4 separate regions of the Homo sapiens genome follow, and regions 2, 3 and 4 are each linked to region 1. The links are contacts of gene promoters, found by promoter capture Hi-C in blood cells and fetal thymus (Javierre and others, 2016). All regions are on one chromosome and are shown on one strand. The core of a region is centred on a gene start or on the middle of the fragment in contact, and the rest is flanking DNA. Distances in the headings are between cores, read along the strand shown. Region 1 holds the start of ZSWIM2 (zinc finger SWIM-type containing 2). Region 2 overlaps CALCRL (calcitonin receptor like receptor). Region 3 overlaps CALCRL-AS1 (CALCRL and TFPI antisense RNA 1). Region 4 overlaps CALCRL-AS1 (CALCRL and TFPI antisense RNA 1).

Region 1 (2,737 bases), core at 79-2,578:
GATTCTAAAGTTGGGAGTATGGTAGTATGAATGTGAGTTGTTATTAGTCAGAATAGGAGAATAAAAATAAAATTTAGTAAATTAAAACCTTAGACCTTAGACCTAAGACTTTAAGGGTTGGATGATGTTTATCCAGGTGTCTCACCTGTGAAAGCTGCCATTACCATCATCTTCTTTCATCTTTTGCCCTTGCCATTTTCTGAGAACTCTCCTGCTGTTGACATAATCTAGTTATGATTTCTGCCCATGATAAAATAGGACAAATATGCTCTATCTTTGGCCACCAAGGCAAAGGTTACTGGACCTCCAAGTAGTGCTATCTCCTGCTTTTAATTTCCTATAGAGATTCTAGTAATGTGGCTTCTTTTTTCAGTAATTATGACTCAAAATGTTGACCCATACTTTATTACAGTTTTCCCCCTAAAATGTGGTAAACAAACCTCAGAGACAATTTAAATTATTGGAGGTACAAACATTGCATACCTTGAAACTCTTATTCCTTAGTATACAGATTTGTAAGTTTCATGTACCCATAGTCAATGGATTCTGTGCCACCATTCAGGACGTACCACCATCCACCATTCTGGCTGTACCATCCCCAACACCCACCCCTACCCAAACATGCAATTAAAAAATGTTCCCTCACTTGGAAGACCATTTCCCCTCCAACACACACACACACACACACACACACAGAGAGAGAGAGAGAGAGAGAGAGAGAGAGAGAGAGAGGCAGAGAGAAATGACTTAAGGATCTGGTTTCCTCCCAAGTAGCTGGGACTACAGCCGGCGCCACTACCGGTGATGCACTTCCTAGGGTTTAGAACTCCTGTCTTCTACATCTTTCCCCCAGAGACTCAGTCAATCTATGCATATAGTGAGCAATCAGAAAATGTTCGTGGAATATTGTGGAACGTCAAAAATCACTCTGGGCTCTGTAACCTCGGCTTTCTGTTAAAGATGATGAATCATCACAGGATAATTTCAGCATCCAGAGCCCAGACTGCAATCGGGTTTGCAACTGTCCTAACAAGTAGATTTCACCATCTCTGCCCCGAGGAAGCAGAAGGAACGCAAGAAAATTGACAGCTATGCCTTCGGCCTCCAGCTTCCAAGTCGGCCAGATGATTATTAAAAACACTCCTCAGTCAAGGGCGTCGCTTCGAAACGCAGTGGAGGCTGGGGAGAGTTGCAGAATCCATGCCATCCCGCACCTTTGTCGCCCGCTCTTCTTCGGCGCAGGGCACACCGGGACACCCCGAGCCCAACCACCGTCACCAAGGCAACCAGCCTGCACGCCGTCGTCTTGGAGACCGGCTGGCGCCTCAGTGAGCCGAGCAGAGGGGCCGCCTCCGCCCGCACCCAGCATGCTTCGCCGAGGCTATAAGGCCTCTGAAAGGCGAAGACACTTGAGCGAGAGGCTCAGCTGGCACCAAGACCAGGCGCTGAGTAGCAGCATCTACCTCCTACGAGAGATGGGCCCCACTGGCTTCCTGCTGAGGGAGGAGGAGCCGGAATACATGGATTTCCGAGTAACTACCGCCCCTACCGCCCCCAGTTGGCCATCATCCCCGCCCACCAGGTTCCCCCACTGGCATACCCAATGTGCGTAGCCACCATCACAATCTCTGCGGATACTTGCTGCCTCACCCCCGAAAGCGCCTTCCCACGAGTGTTCCAGACTCTAAAATACGTGAAATTACAGAAGGAAATAGTATTTATTAGAAGTTTCTTTTTTGGAGGTTAAGACCAAACTGCAACTCTTGTAAAAGATGATGGCTCTTGATCTTTAGGCTTGAAAATGTCAGAGGCGTATGAATACCTGGTTGGCATTACATGTGTTCTTGGATCTGTTGTTAGTGGTCCTTAGTCCTGTAAATCAAACGAAATGAAAATTCTACAATCTGCTAGCATACTGTAAATATTTTCTAAATAAATAAATAGGTTTCCCTTTACTCTTTGCTCACTCTGAAACTGTATGAAGGCCCTATTAAAGGATGGTTTAAATGGCAATACCTTGGAAAGATATTAATGAATAAAAATTCAAGTTTACTGAAAGACCACAGATATTTCATAATTGCATATCCCATCCTTAACCACTCAAAAATTAGCCACTGCACTACCTCCTAGGAGTTGACTTACAAAATTTTACGTTAGTGCCGTGAAGTTTAAGAATTGAATGCAATTTACTAGTCTGTGCTTATTTAAAGCATCTTTTTTTACTTTGTTGCTTCAATACTTACTGTATTTAATAGTTTTAGCCAAACTAGTCTTGGTGAATAAATTTTGTCCTCTTGAATAAAATTAAATAAATTCACCGACTCAAATGCACCAAACAAAAATCCAAAATGAGCTACCTTACAAAAGGTGCTTAGCTCCACCCCAAAGTAGAATTTCCTTACTGTGAGGAATTTATGGGTTGATATTTGCTTTTTTTCTTCTCTGACTTTGGGAATTAGATTTATTTTCACCTGCCTAAGGGCAGGTCACTTTAAAACCATCCTAATTTGTTAATTTGCTAACAAAGATAAATAATGAAGCCTAGAGACTAGTATCAAGAATTAAGATTCTCCAGTAGAATCTATTCAACCTTTTTGAATCACCTAAACTAAATTACCTCTTCAAATCTCTTTTATTAACTCAGTTTTGCTCTAACTCTCAAATTTTACTGGTCTTTTTAAGTATGCATTTTTCCTTTAAAGGTTTTTCTAGGAAATCCTCACGTTTGTAACTGTTC
Region 2 (2,737 bases), core at 60-2,559, 500 kb before region 1:
TATAGCTCAGTAATCTGAGCTCTATTGACTTAGCTCTTTATATGTTTTTAATCTGCTCGACACAATTTAACCTGTAGGAGGATTTTGGCAAAATTGAACAAAGTTTAGAAATCCAGACAGCAGCTGAGTGAGACACAGACACTTGATAATGTGAAGCTTATCATAAAGCTTCAGATGGGGAACACATGGGACCAGTTGGTATAACCTATGACAACCATTCCTATAAAACAAATGAACATTGGAAATCATGCACACATCATGAAAAACTATAACATGTTATTTGCGCTTGCTTAAGTAATATTTTTACTTCCTCATCTTGACATATAATAAAACTCAATGTTTAGTTTTTAATTAAAATATATCTCAAGTTCAACACGTATTTATTTATATTATTATTATTTATCTATATTTATTTATTTGTAATGAGGTGTAGAGTTGCCACACATTGTAGACTATATTTCATACATTTAAGTGGTACTTCCATAATTCTTCTGCTATACAGAAGACAAGAGCAACTTTTTCTGAAATCAGAGAAGCATAGACAGAATGCAGTTACAAAAAATAGATAAATCATTTGTTTGATAGTAAAATTCAAATAGATTTTATTATATACCTCTATAAATTTAATGTTATATACACTGAATTAGACAACCCTAAATGCTACTTGTATAGGATGTAATAATTAAATATAGATGAGAGTGATATGGACAACATGCTAAAGAACATGCATGAAATAGGAAAGGTAGACCTCTGTATCTACAGAAACAGATTTTAATTCCATGAACTAATTTTTAAATATTCAAAACACACTCACTAGTAAAATATTTTGTAACAGGAGGCAGTGTAGAATAAACACAGCAATGCATTTAATCACCAAAGATGCTACTTTTCATCTTGGCTGTGATATTTTGGCAAATGCTGGCAAATTTCAGGAGCCTGTGTCTATCTTTCTTAAAGGGAAATTAAAGCAAGTTCTCTACACAGGTCTCAGAAAAATAAATACAAGCTAAGAAAGATAAAGTTTTTAGCACCATGCCCCACTTCATGAGATTCTCAGTATACTTATTATTTGATTTGTCAAATCACTTATTTTCAAAAACACATGTGCCAACAGGAACATTAATCATTTTGGATCAAAATCCCAAATTGGCTCTTTTATTTAGAAAGAGTGCCCAGGGAATATCTAAAGTAATGCCTAACACTCCTGTTACACTCGATCTGTGTAAACAAAAGGGACACAGAACCTTGATCTTCTGCCATGTCCTAAAATTGAGAAAATTTTGACATTGGAAAATTACAATAATACACAATGTTTGAGCTAGGTTGTTCCCAAATCTTTCAGTTCCTCACAACATTTCTAATATCTGTTCCTTTTCTTCATCTCTGGAGATACAATCCCTGTTTCAGTATGATTCATTTCTCTTCTTAAGAAATACTGTGATCCCTCCCTTTTTGTCTCAATGCCTCTTACTTTTTCCCACTCTCATAACATGAAGAAACAACTGCCAAATTCATTTTGTTCCAACTATGTCATGTACTTCTTAAAATCATTTGCTCAGGCTTAGTTTCCTTCTTGTTTTCCACATTAGGTCAAATGCCTGCCTTTAGCTTAATATTTGTGTTTTTTTCTTTCCCACCTTTTATGCACTTTTTAGCTAACGTCTTGCTATTAGCATTTCTCACTAGTTAAATAAATGTGGCTTGACAAGTGCTTGGATTACTTTCATTTTATCCCTAGTGCCCTCAGACAAAAATGTGCACTGTGATCATAAACTAGGGACTCTAGTCATCAGAAGGTTATATTTAACAACACCTGAGGGTAGATATTCCATAAGATGAGCAAAAAGTTTTGTTGAGGACAGACAATTAAACCCAAATTCTTTCATGAGAACTACGTAGAATTTTTATAAAAGTTTCGTAAATATTTTAAATTGATTCCCATTAAGGAGTATAAAGTTAGTTCCTTATTGGGTGTTAATGGGTATATAAAGTTGTAATGTTACATTCTAAACATTTGCCTTACTACTTATACATGGTCATGCATAAAACAATAAAAACATTCATATCTTTAATAACACCCAGCTATCTTCCCTTACAATGGAAATTTGCTCCTACTGATTTTTTCTCATTAAAAGTTTATTAAGAGTAGCTGCTTTAATGTCGTATTTAACAGGTGTGATATTGTATTAGAGGAAGCAGAAGAAAAATGTAACATCCTTAGAGCAAATAACATAAACAAACAAGTCTACAAGGCCTGTGGATCTTTAATTAGGTTTATTTTTAACTATAGTAAGACCTCACAGTTCATGAAATTGGCTTTCTATGGTTTTTCTGATGATTTAGTTGCAAGGAAGAAATAGAGTGATGACCTTAATCAAAGTAGATATTTTAAGAGCAAACAGTCATATATTTCAATAGCCATTTTCCTTCCAAATTGAATTTAAGCTTTCCTTTTTAAGACTATAAGTACTAGACTCACAGCTAAGATATTACTTCCTCTCAGCTTTTTCTCATACTTTATATAGAATTTTTTATACAAAGCTATATGCCACTTCCCCTCAACCAGAAACTATATTGATTACATACTCAACCAATTCAGCATTTAGTAACAAAATTAGGAGAAGTTTATGAAACAAAAAATAAGGATCAAAAATATTTCTCATCAGATGTATCTAGATAATTGGTCAATGGTCATTTTTATTTTGAATCTCTGAATATGTATTTAAAATTCACAATC
Region 3 (2,737 bases), core at 88-2,587, 470 kb before region 1:
ATATTTTTCTCTTTCACATGACATGAAAAGAAAAAAATATAGCTCTGAAACTTGTATTACTAACTTTTGCTTTAATTATAATTTTTCTGTCCATAGGAACCACTTTTGAAAGTGATTGTTTTCAGTTACATCAAAAGATTAGTCAGTGTATCTGTCAGGAAAGGAAAAAAAATCTTTATCTTGGTGAAAATATTTGAAACTGTTAGACATATCAATTTTTTTTTTGAGACAGCATCTCACTCTGTCGCCCAGGCTGGTAAGATCATGGATCACTATAGCCTCAACATCCTGGCATTCAGTAATCTTGCCATCTCAGCCCACGGAGGAGCTGGAACTACAGGTGCACACCCTCATGCCCAGCTAATTTTCGTGGCTTTTTTAAAAATTTTTTTCTTTGATAGAGACAAGGTCTCATTATGTTGACCAGGCTGGTCTCCAACTCCTGGACACAAGCAATCCTCCCCCTTGGCCTCCCAAACTGCTGGGATTACCAGCGTGAGCCACCACACCTGGCTTCAAATCTTAACAAATCTAATAAAAATCATTGATACCCCTGGAAAGATTTTATAGTACAGTATCACTTATAGTCAAACTGTAAGCTGTTTGTTTCCCAATTAACTGAACTGTGGAGCAAGCATACTCTAAAGGAGTTTTAGAAAACTAGTTGCTTTTCTGGATCCCTGGTAACAATTTATGAGAAGTAAAAAATACAAGAAAATAGAATGAATCAGAAAGTAGAGGAAGAGGTGAAAGTGAGGAGTTTCAAAAGAGAAGCAGGCTGGATCACACAATGTTTAGCTGCACAGGATTTTCAGTTAGAAAGGCCAGCATGCAAATCATAGTTCTGTCATTCCCCACCTTAGTCAAGTTGCTTAACTTGCTGAGTCTTCATTTCTTTTGTTATTCAGCAAGGAGGAAAAAATAACCATTTAAATAAATTTTGTATTAATTAAATCAGTTAAGATATTTATAATGCCTAGTGGGATATTAAATAATGAAGGACATTTCGAAGAACATAGTTTTAGGATTAGATTTGTTAAACAGCTACTGTGTATTATATATTTTAATAAGCACTTTGTTATATTAATAATCACCATTTATTATTATTTTATATGCCAAGCTCTTTCTTAGCTATTTCTTAAATATTAGTTTATTTCCCATTAATGTACAACTTTGCAAAGCATGTATTGTAATTCCCAGTTTACTTATGTGGGAGTTAAGAGAATTTAAGTCATTTGTCTAAGAGTCATATAGCCATAAGTGAGAATGTGAGAGATTTTATCTGAGACTAGAATTTTATATTAATTATAACTGAATACATCATTTGTTTTTAAGTACTACTAGTTAAAATATGAGTGAAACATTTGTGTTCCTAATTGTTAAATTTAAAAGTTCAATTGTACAATTTCCATTTTATCCGAGAATTTTAGGTAATAATGTGTGGCTGCTGATAATGGGTGTGTGTGTGGTGGGGCGAGAGGGAACAGGGGTGAAGATCAATGGGAAAATTTTCTGTAGAAATTTTATTTCAAGTATCTAAATATTAAGTAACCACTTTGATAGAGATCCTCATTTGGTTCACGTCTTTGATTCATTAAGAGGTTATAGACCAGAAAATAATATATGTATATATTATATACATATATATGTATATATATAATATATACATGAAAATAATATATATGTATGTATTATATATATAATACATACATATGTATAATATATATTATATATTATACATATAATATATATTATAATAATATGTCATATAATGAAACACATATTTGATAGAAACATCATTTTTAAAAGAAGAATGCAGTGTAAAGACTGAATGTAACCATGATCATCTACCCATAATGAACTACTTTGTGAGTAAAACTGTTGATAGAATAGACATATCCTAATTTCAGTGCAATGTACGTGATGATAAGTATTACAGAAATTTGTGTCTCAAGCCGAAGTACATAGAAGACCTTTCACAAATGGTTGTTGAATAAATAAATGAATGAATGAATTCAACTGTTTCACCCTACTGCTTCTGCCAAGGTCGCCAATATTCTTTTACTTTTTGGTCTCTGAAGAACTTACTAAATCTGGTGACTTGACTTCATGAAACTCTCCTCCTTAACTTCTAAGACATCACTGAATTTTTGTTTCCCCATCTCCTTTTGTGATCATTTCATCACTGTCACCTTTACTGACTGTTCCTCTTTTACACATCTCTTAAATGCAGGTTATTTACTGGATTCCCTTGCTCACCTCCTCCAATTATAGTCACTCTCTCTGGGTGATCCAAATCAGTGTCATGGCGTCAAATATCATACTTATATTGAAGAAAGAGAAAGAGAGAGGGAAGAAGGTAAGAAAGAAAAAGAAAGAAAGAAAAGCAGGATTAGCTGTTGGAAAAACCAACCTAATATCCCAATGTCATCTCATATCAATATGTTTAAAATAGAACTATATACTTTTCCTACTGATATTGATCTCCCCCAGTATTCTACATTTAATGGGTGTTACTGTTTTCTGTATTTGCTTAAGCCCAAATTTTAGAAATCCTCTTACATTCCTCCCTTTTCCAGAGTATCTATGTTCAATTAATCTCTATAACTATTAATTTTTTCTCACTAATGTCTGTCCTGTCTTCCTTTCAACTGCCTTAGTTCAGTTCCTTAGAATCTTTCACTTAGAGCATTATTTCTCCCTCCTATCTGAACTCCTCTGGCTGAGGTTTCCTCTC
Region 4 (2,737 bases), core at 119-2,618, 450 kb before region 1:
TCTGAAGCAATATGTTTTAGACATGCTACTTCACTGAGCACAAAATACACTGATTAAAATTTAAGAAAGAGAAATGTAAACAAGTGTGATAATAATTAGAAAGCACTGAGTGTGACTCAAATAATTCAGAGAGTAATCCAATAATTAAAATAACCTACAAAGTAAATATTTACATTTTGTGAGTGCCAAGGGAAAAACGTGTTTATTAGTAAAAAAGAAACCAAAAGGTTTTAATCTGGTAGGAGCAATTTTCTCTTTTGTCATTAGGGCTTCGAAAATAATAGAGGGCAAGGGAGAAGATGGATAGGTAAGCACTTGTAATGTGTATTTTAATTGTGGCTTTCTGATTATGCCCTTGTGCAAATATTATTAAAACAGCAGAAATGTTTAAAGTCCTGAGCATTGGCAGTTTTTTGACAGGCTTATGGGAACGATAGAGCTTCTTAGGACTTACTTCCTCTAATAATAAGGCCCCAATTCAAAGAATCCCTCTGTCATTGCAATACAAAAATACTTGTGTTAATTTTGGCTGTAATGATCACTTTAGTTACAAGTAGACAGTGAACTATAATTTGGTTGCAAAATGTTATGCTCTATGACAGTGCAAAAAACATATTCATCTATACTGAGGTAAGTACTAATAACATACTCATTCAACAAAAATGCTGGAGAGCCAAAACACTATTCTACATTTACCTTTGGAAACAACCTCACTACAAGACGGGGAGAAAAGATATATCAACCAAAAGTTTAATACAATGTTTTAAATTATACAAAGGAAATATATATAAAATGCTGTAAGTGCATCAAATAGGAAGAAGGCAGTAAGACTACAAATAGCAATGTTATTAGTAGATCATTCTCAACTTTAAATGCCATACTAATAACTTTGGGCAATGAAGAAATATCAAAAGGTTTGTTTTCCAACGGGACAAATCTCTTTTAGCCATGTGAGTTCTCACACTGATACAAGCATGACAAGTCATCTTTAGTCAGGAGGAATGCTATCCAAGACTTCAGAATTAATCCCCACAATCCCATCCAAAAGCTATCATGTATCCAGACTCTCAACCTGTCCCCTAATTCTGGCTTCCTGCTGCTCTCCTTTTGCTGTGATACTTGGACCCTGCTCTTGGCCTTTGTTCTTTAGACTGAAACCTTAAAGACTCTCCCTCTGCTCAACCTGACACTCCTCATGCTCACCTAGACTGGGTTATCTAAGAGTAGTCTTGGCTCTGGTCTCTCCTAGTAGTTCCTTCTTTGAGTATTGTTTCCCACACACAGTATCTAGTTATCCATGCCATGGAGAATTGTTTCAAAGATTAAAATGTGATAATGAGAGTGAAAACAATACTGCTTTTATATTCTTATAAAATTTTATATATTATATTGGCTACTGCCCTTGGTACAAAGACAGTGGATTAGTTTCTTGGTTCTCCTACACTTCTCTATTGCTAAATGTTGCACTCACTCTCCAGGGGTCTTTAGTCATACTCTTCATCTCACATCAGGGCACTTGGTCAAGTTCAGATTTTTGGCCTGGGCTGCACTTTGCTGCCCTCTTCTGATACACAATCATTATGCTTTTGATTTGACAAACTAACCAATTTTCAGATCTCTGTGGATTTAACCCTTTTCAGGTTTCTACTATCTATCACCATTTTTAATATTCCTGCCTATAGCAATTATTGCTCTTTCTATAATATTTAAGCAGGCTGAAGATGAATACTTACAGGATAAATTACTGTAACTGCCTACATTTAAATTAATGGCAGCAATAAAACTTGTCCTGTGTCCATGATTATCTCAACTATGCCAAATTATCAGAAATGATCAATAACTAAAGGAGGATTCAAGTTAAAAGCATAGCTATACACTAATTACCATAAACACATATTTTTCTTATTTGTTTGCAATAAAACCTTCTGATATACCTATTTATTCATTCATCTGCTCAACAGATATTTATGTTTGTTTTGTATCTGCTTCTATCCTGTAGAATGGATACTTTATTTATTCATTCACTCAACAAAAATTTATGTTTGCTATATTTCCGCTACTAACCTGGAGAGGCACTGACTCAAATAACTTACAGTCTAGTGGAACAAATATTTGCATTTCCAAAAGTGGTACTGGGGGTCTGTGAACACATTTTAGAGGAAGACTAACTGTGCCTGCAAAAGTCAGAAGAAAAAGCCTTTCTGCATACTTATAGTATATTATCAAGAAAGAATGGAAGATATAAAAACAGACAAAGGAGGGAAAATCATTCTGGGTGGAAACAATGGCAGATTCAAAGATATGAGGGCATGACATGGAAAGAAATTATTATTTAATGACTATTACATAGAAAAAAATTCTGAGAAGGACAAGTAATAAGGCTGGAAAGAAAGACATGAGTCAGATCACAAAGGTACTTAAATTCTTGGTAAAAGATCTTAGATTTAAACCTGTAGTCAATTAAACAATAGGCAGCCATTAAAAGAGTTTTAGTACAAGAGTAGCGTGGTTGAAATTGCATTTTGGAATTAAATACCTACTTCTTGACTTATGTACTGAAGTAGAGGATGACATGACAGTGGCAATTAGACTAGGGTTGCCAAAAGCAAAATAATTAGGACACATTTGGAAAATATCTTGAGTTTTAAGTAGAACAATGTAGAAAGCCATAACAAGATGAGAAACCAGAAGCAAATACTGTATTTTGACTACAGTGCAATAATGAACAGGAGATTTG

What was found. Contacts are between HindIII fragments. The CHiCAGO score rates a contact against its expected background, and 5 or more counts as called.
Region 2: a contact is called between a fragment that was not itself captured here and the fragment with the promoter of ZSWIM2 in region 1, in 1 of 17 cell types (monocytes). The highest score is 5.8, in monocytes.
Region 3: a fragment that was not itself captured here is called in contact with the fragment with the promoter of ZSWIM2 in region 1 in 1 of 17 cell types (M2 macrophages); the score reaches 5.8 in M2 macrophages.
Region 4: a fragment that was not itself captured here is called in contact with the fragment with the promoter of ZSWIM2 in region 1 in 2 of 17 cell types (M1 macrophages and M2 macrophages); the score reaches 5.5 in M1 macrophages.

The regions. Positions count from the first base shown.
Region 1 is chr2:186,847,761-186,850,497 of GRCh38, reverse strand. It overlaps ZSWIM2 (zinc finger SWIM-type containing 2), which reads left to right and starts at 1,328. Exons shown (of 9, transcript NM_182521.3): 1 at 1,328-1,532; 2 at 2,703-2,737. The coding sequence starts at 1,368. The HindIII fragment of the contact is 8,021 bases long and covers 1-2,737 here.
Region 2 is chr2:187,348,239-187,350,975 of GRCh38, reverse strand. All of the region lies in intron 14 of CALCRL (calcitonin receptor like receptor), which reads left to right. All of the region lies in intron 2 of CALCRL-AS1 (CALCRL and TFPI antisense RNA 1), which reads right to left. Among named protein-coding and RNA genes, the nearest start is that of CALCRL, 99 kb to the left of the region's middle. The HindIII fragment of the contact is 2,277 bases long and covers 171-2,447 here.
Region 3 is chr2:187,314,341-187,317,077 of GRCh38, reverse strand. All of the region lies in intron 2 of CALCRL-AS1 (CALCRL and TFPI antisense RNA 1), which reads right to left. Among named protein-coding and RNA genes, the nearest start is that of CALCRL, 130 kb to the left of the region's middle. The HindIII fragment of the contact is 3,016 bases long and covers 1-2,737 here.
Region 4 is chr2:187,298,137-187,300,873 of GRCh38, reverse strand. All of the region lies in intron 2 of CALCRL-AS1 (CALCRL and TFPI antisense RNA 1), which reads right to left. Among named protein-coding and RNA genes, the nearest start is that of CALCRL, 150 kb to the left of the region's middle. The HindIII fragment of the contact is 2,959 bases long and covers 1-2,737 here.